Linked DNA regions of Homo sapiens: region 1 is linked to region 2. The links are contacts of gene promoters, found by promoter capture Hi-C in blood cells and fetal thymus (Javierre and others, 2016). All regions are on one chromosome and are shown on one strand. The core of a region is centred on a gene start or on the middle of the fragment in contact, and the rest is flanking DNA. Distances in the headings are between cores, read along the strand shown.

Region 1 (2,855 bases), core at 180-2,679, 440 kb after region 2:
GGGCCATGGACACCCGCCCTGTCTCCCAAGGCCCTTACCGTGGGCCAGGGCTTCCAGGCCTTCCTCCCCCTGGCTGGCTCCTTTGCCCCGCCCTCGTCTCCGGTGCTTCTGGCCATGAGTGCGGTGATGCCGATGGCTCTGCCGGCCAAGCGGCATCCGAACTCCCACATACAGAGTTCTGTGACCTGGAAAGAAGCAGAAGGTCTGTGGAGAGAACTCCTTTAGTTTTAAAAAACAACAACAACAAAAAGCCTAGCATAGTTAAGAGAAAAAAATATCACAGTTCTTTGGTCTGGTCACAGCTCTGGAACAACAAAACTTCAAAGACTTCCAGGAGTAAAGATATAGAGATTTTGGAGTTGAAGGTCTCTTCCTTTGTCCTGCACATGCCTGCAAACTTCACAGGGATCTTGTGAAGACTGAAAGAAATAATGTGATTTCCAAACTGTAAAGGCTGATTCAGATGTTATTGTTATGACAATGACAATGACAATTTGACTGAGTGATTTTTTTAAAAGGCAATACAGTTGCTCTATGACAAGTGTGGCAGGTCTTGGCAGGGAGGCAGTTTAGAAAAGTCGTTAAGAGCACAGGTAAGGCTCAAATCAGCCCACCTGGGTCCAAAACTCAATTCCATCATTCACTTGCCATGTGACCTTGAACAATTTATCTAATCTCTCTGTGACTCATCTTTAAGAAGAAATATTAAAAGCTTAGTATTTAAACTCAGAGTTTTCATAAGCAGTAAATAAGGTTATGCATGCAAAATGCTTAACACATGCCTGGAATAAATTGTAGCAGCCTAGGATGTATTCATCCTAGGATCAGCTTCCATTATTTTATTTTCTACATTGTAGCATACACAATCTAGAACAGTACTAAAAGAGACTAGTTGTAAGTCATGAGGAGGGTGAGGCTAAGGTTAAAAAAAGACATTAAATACTGTACAAAGAGAGGGGAACATGAGAAAATAAGTGACCCAATAGTGTTCCCTCCCTAGTTCCTCTGCTCCTATTTCTTCTTTTTCTTCTTGAGACAGTATCTCACTCTGTCACCCAGGCTAGAGGGCAGTAGCCTGGTCATATCTTACTGTAGCCTTGAACTCCTGGGCTCAAGCAATCCTCCCACCTCAGTCTCCCAAGTAGCTAGGAATACATGTGTGCACCACCACACCCAGCTAATTTTTCAATTTTTTGTAGAGATGGGGTCTCGCCACGTTGCCCAAGCTGATTGCCCCAAGCAATCCTACTGTCTCCACCTCGAAAGCACTGGGTTTACAGGCATGAGTCACCACATCTGGCCTCATTCCTTCTATAAGCCTGCTTTTGTTTTGATCCAGATTTCCAGATCTCTGTCACCTCTACCTGGCTTTCCCTTGCCTTCCTGCCAAACCTGGAGCCCAGAATTTGGGGCTGCTGATGCTCCCATGCCCAATGCACCATGCCTTGGTCTTCTCCCATTTCTGCCTGGTTACTGCTGCTCAGCACTCTAGATCTCAGACCCATTCCCCACATCTTCCACCAAAGGAGCTGTTCTAATCCTTAGCCACTGTCTTCAAATCCACAACCTTATCCACATTCCTTCCTGCTGAGAGCAGGTGACTTTGCATCAGTTTTTTTTTTTTTCCTTTCTTTTTTAGATAGGGTCTCACTCTGTTGCCCAGGCTGGAGTGTGGTGTTATGATCACCACTCATGGTAGCCTTGAATTCCCAAGTTCAAGTGATCCTCCCATGTAGCTGGGACCACAGGCGTGTACCACCACGCCCAGCTAATTTTTTTGATTTTTAGTAGAGACAAGTCCTGCCATGTTGCCCAGGCTTGTTTCAAACTCCTGAGCTCAAGCGATTCTCCTGCCTTGGCCTCCCAAAGTACTGGGATTACAGGTGTGAATCACTGCACCCAGCCCTCACTTCAGTTTTTCCTGAGAAGAGATGGAAGAAGTTCTTCTCTTCCTCAGTCTGGCTTGCTCTCCTCTGCCAAGCTGGGTATGTTAATGAGTATGACTCTATCCCATTGTCTCCCACCCCTCTGGTATCCTGTTGCTTCTGTTATCCTCAGTCTCTCCTTTCCATCCATCCCTGCCATAGGTTTCTCCTGACTTCTTAAAAAGAAACCTTCCCAAGCAGTGCTACCCACCCAAGCTTCTGCTGTTTCCTCTTTCCTTCTTTATCAAACCACTTCCAAAAACAGTCACAACCTAACTCCCTTTCCTCACCACTTCCTTGTTCCACAGCCTCTGCATATGGCTTCTGACCCCAGTCTCTGCTGAAGCTTCCCTCATTAGGGACACCACACCACTCATTCACCAAATCTCTATCATCTTACATCTCTCTCAGCTTAGTTCAAAAGACTTTCTTGAGAGCCCACCACGTTGCAGGCAGTATCCAAACCACTTGGGTGCTCTGGGCTCCCTGAGCTCCGGTGCCACTGCCCTCCCCTGGTTCACTTGCACTACTCTGACTGTGCTGCTCCATCCCCCAACAAGCCACCAAAGGAAAGCTCCTCAAGTTTCTGTCCTTGGCCCTTTTCTTCCTTTTTAGTGCTAAACACTCTTCTGTTTTCAAAATTCACTTCTACAAATGACCTTCAAATCTCTATCTACAATGATTGAACATGTCACAAAGCAAACTCACCATCCTCCATCTCAAATCGGTCTTATACTCATTCCATGTTTCTGTTCATGGCCTTGTCATTCTCTCAATTTCCTAGGCTTGAAACCGAGCGTTACCTTAGATTTTCAACTCCATTCCCTTTCTCCCTCACCGTACTTTCTATAGATTAGGGCCATCAAAACTCCCACTTTAACAAAGCAGGGGCCCCTTCCTGCCTCTCACATTAAATTAACCCTGCAAACA
Region 2 (2,906 bases), core at 361-2,860:
TGTCTGAGCTATCAATAGCAGGACTTGGTTGATTGTACGAAGCCCAAATCATGTGCCCCCCCCTCCAGGAAGGTGAACTAGATTGATCCCCCATCTCCACCTCTCTCCTTTCTGCAAATAATCACAGCTGACTTAGTGTCTGGTGGGAAGGCTTGGAGGAGGGACTGGAGGCCACACACCCCGGTCCAGGCCCCGCACACCTGCCATGAGGAGGGTGGCCACGCACTCACAGCGGTTCCGCATGGCAGCCTTCATTAACGCCGTGAGCCCCCGCTGGTCCCGGCGTTCCAGGTCCAGGCCCACATAGTAGTTGAGCAGGAGACTCACTAGAGGCACGTGGCCTGCAGGGCAGCAAGGGTAAGCTTGGTCCCCAGGAAAGGGGGTGATGAAGCTCCCAAACCGCCCTCCACCCAGCATGACAGAGTCTGGTGTAGAACACCGTGCAACAAGGGTGGGGCTGAGGCCCTGTCTGCATCAAAAGGGGGCTGTCGGAAGTGGGGTGCAGCAGCCTCACACCTGCTTGGGCAGCCAACATGAGGGCCGTGTCCCCTCCTTTGTCCTGCTGGTTCACATCAAGGAAAGGACAGTGGCTGAGCAGGGCCACAACACTCTGGAAGCCGTGGTAGCATGCGACCATGAGGCCTGTCTGAGGGAGGGGCAGCTCAGATCCCCTGCTTTCCCCCTGGGCCACTCCAGGGCCCCTTGCACCCTCTAAACCCATATCTGTCCCAGAGCCTGCCCCAAACCCCGTGAAGACCCGCCCTTAACCATTCCCTTCCTCCTTAGGACTGCAGGAGGTATTGCCCCTGAACCCCTCTCAGGGAGCCAGGCCAGGACGGTGTGGTGGGGATGCAAAGATGCCCCCAGCTGTTCTGGGAAGCCAGGACATCTCACCCTCCCATTGCTGTCCACCTGGGTGGCCTCCTCTGGGGAGACCCCACCATCCAGTATGGCTTGGAGCTGGGTGGGATCATTGTGGACACAGGCCCAATACAGGGCCCCCAGCCTGCAGCCTGGGGTGGGGGTCTCCTTGCCCGGGCAGGGCAGTGCCTCAGACATGTCCAGCCGTCTCCTGTGCAATGCCAGCTCTTCCTCTTCCAGGCAGGGAACCAGAAGGTGAGTCCCTTTTCTCATGCAGCTGGCATCTAAAACACAGAATGGAGAGGAGTAGTGAGTGTCTCCCTGGATCCTAGGGAGGGGACCCAGCAGCTGCGAAGTGCACAGCCCTTGCCCCAGGGAAAACATTTATCCCAGCAGGGGTCTCGCCCCATCCACCCTGAGAAAGGACAAGCGCTGGGTCAGGAGCCCTAAGCAAGCAGGGTTCACTCTAGGTCAGCACCCCAGTGAGACTCACGGAGAGAGGGTCGTCGTTTTTTCTTACTTGGGGTTCGTAGGGTATCTATGAGGCAGTCAACGCGGGGCACAGCCCAGGCTCCGCGGAGCACAATCACTGGGTCTCCGAATGCCTCCAGGTGGACTATCCCTCCCCAGGAAGCAACGCAGGTAACAGATGGCTGGACTTTCATAAAGAGCTGCTGCAAACACCTCGGGGCTGAGCCGGATCAAGCAGCTGGGACTGGGGCCCCATGCGGGGCGGGTGGTCACGTCTCAGGAGCGGACTCAGACCAGCCCCAAGATCCTCCGGGTGGGCGGGGCCTGAGCCGGGCAGCTCCTCCCCGCCGGGGCGGGCTCACAAAGACGACTCCTCCTGACGGACGCGCCCACTCTCAGCCTTGGGGACGCCGGCGGAGATGCTGCCTCGTGGGGTCTTGGCCCAACTTTTTAGGCCCAGCCTAAAGCCCCTCCTAATTGGGTGGAGCGCGACTTGCTGAAGGGGTGGTTGCGGGAGAGGGGGTGAGTGAATGCAGGTATCTCATTAAATAGGGTTGGTACTCTCAGAATGACCCTGGGGTGGGGTCTCCAGGGGGGTCACCTGAACTTATTTTTTGAGGTTCTGGGGAAATAAAAACATAATTGTCAAATTATGAGTATAGAGCTGGGCCCGGTGGCTCACGTCTGTTATCCCAGCGACTCAGGAGGCTGAGGTGGGAGGATCGCTTGAGCCCGGGAGGTCGAGGCTGCAATGAACCGATGTCGCGCCACTGAACTCTAGCCTGGGCAACAGAGGGAGACCTCCTTTTAAAAAAAAATTGTGGCCAGGCGGGGTGGCTCACGCCTGTAATCCCAGCACTTTGAGATTCCAAGACGGGTGGATTATCTGAGGTCAGGAGTTCAAGAACAGCCTGGCTAACATGGCAAAACCCTGTCTCTACTAAAAATACAAAAATTAGCTGGGCTTGGTGGTGGGCGCCTGTAATCCCAGCTACTCAGGAGGCTGAGGCAGGAGAATCACTTGAACCCGGGAGGCAGAGGTTGCAGTAAGCCGGGATCGCACCATTGCTCTCCAGCCTAGGCAACAAGAGCGAAACTCCTTCTCAAAAAACAAAACAAACAAACAAACGAAATTGTGAGTACCGACATTATGTGTCTAGTGCAGGTGGGCAGTCGGGGCACAAAGTGCGGCAGGCAGTAGTGAGGGAGGGATTGGCCAGAAATTATGATGTATGAAATTTAATAGATTAGTTTCAGTGTGATAAATTAAATATGAAATATTTAAATTAAATGATCTGTTAATATAATGATAAATTGTTATCAAAATATTCTTTAATATTTATATTACATATTAAGCTTGATGGATTGGTCTTGGTCCACAGATGTAGAAAATGGAGCCAATGATATTCCCCCATTGGTATCACTCCCATCATCAGACTGTACAAGACCTCTCTCTTGTTTTGTTTTACTTTCTTTAGTTTCTCTCTTTCACCCTTAATCCCCACATCCCATTCTCCTCCACCCTTTACCAACTGGCACTTGTATATCCTTGAAAATGTACATTTCATTGAAAA

The links. The method cuts DNA at HindIII sites, captures the fragments that hold promoters and counts their contacts. A CHiCAGO score of 5 or more calls a contact.
Region 1: a fragment that was not itself captured here is called in contact with the fragment with the promoter of ANKRD33 in region 2 in 1 of 17 cell types (M0 macrophages); the score reaches 5.9 in M0 macrophages.

Annotation. Positions count from the first base shown.
Region 1 is chr12:51,448,206-51,451,060 of GRCh38, reverse strand. SLC4A8 (solute carrier family 4 member 8) reads right to left here. Exons shown (of 25, transcript NM_001039960.3): 3 at 39-185. Among named protein-coding and RNA genes, the nearest start is that of SLC4A8-AS1, 24 kb to the right of the region's middle. The HindIII fragment of the contact is 1,429 bases long and covers 715-2,143 here.
Region 2 is chr12:51,886,807-51,889,712 of GRCh38, reverse strand. It overlaps ANKRD33 (ankyrin repeat domain 33), which reads right to left and starts at 1,610. Exons shown (of 5, transcript NM_182608.4): 1 at 1,382-1,610; 2 at 895-1,145; 3 at 517-646; 4 at 231-341. The coding sequence starts at 1,526. The HindIII fragment of the contact is 2,326 bases long and covers 365-2,690 here.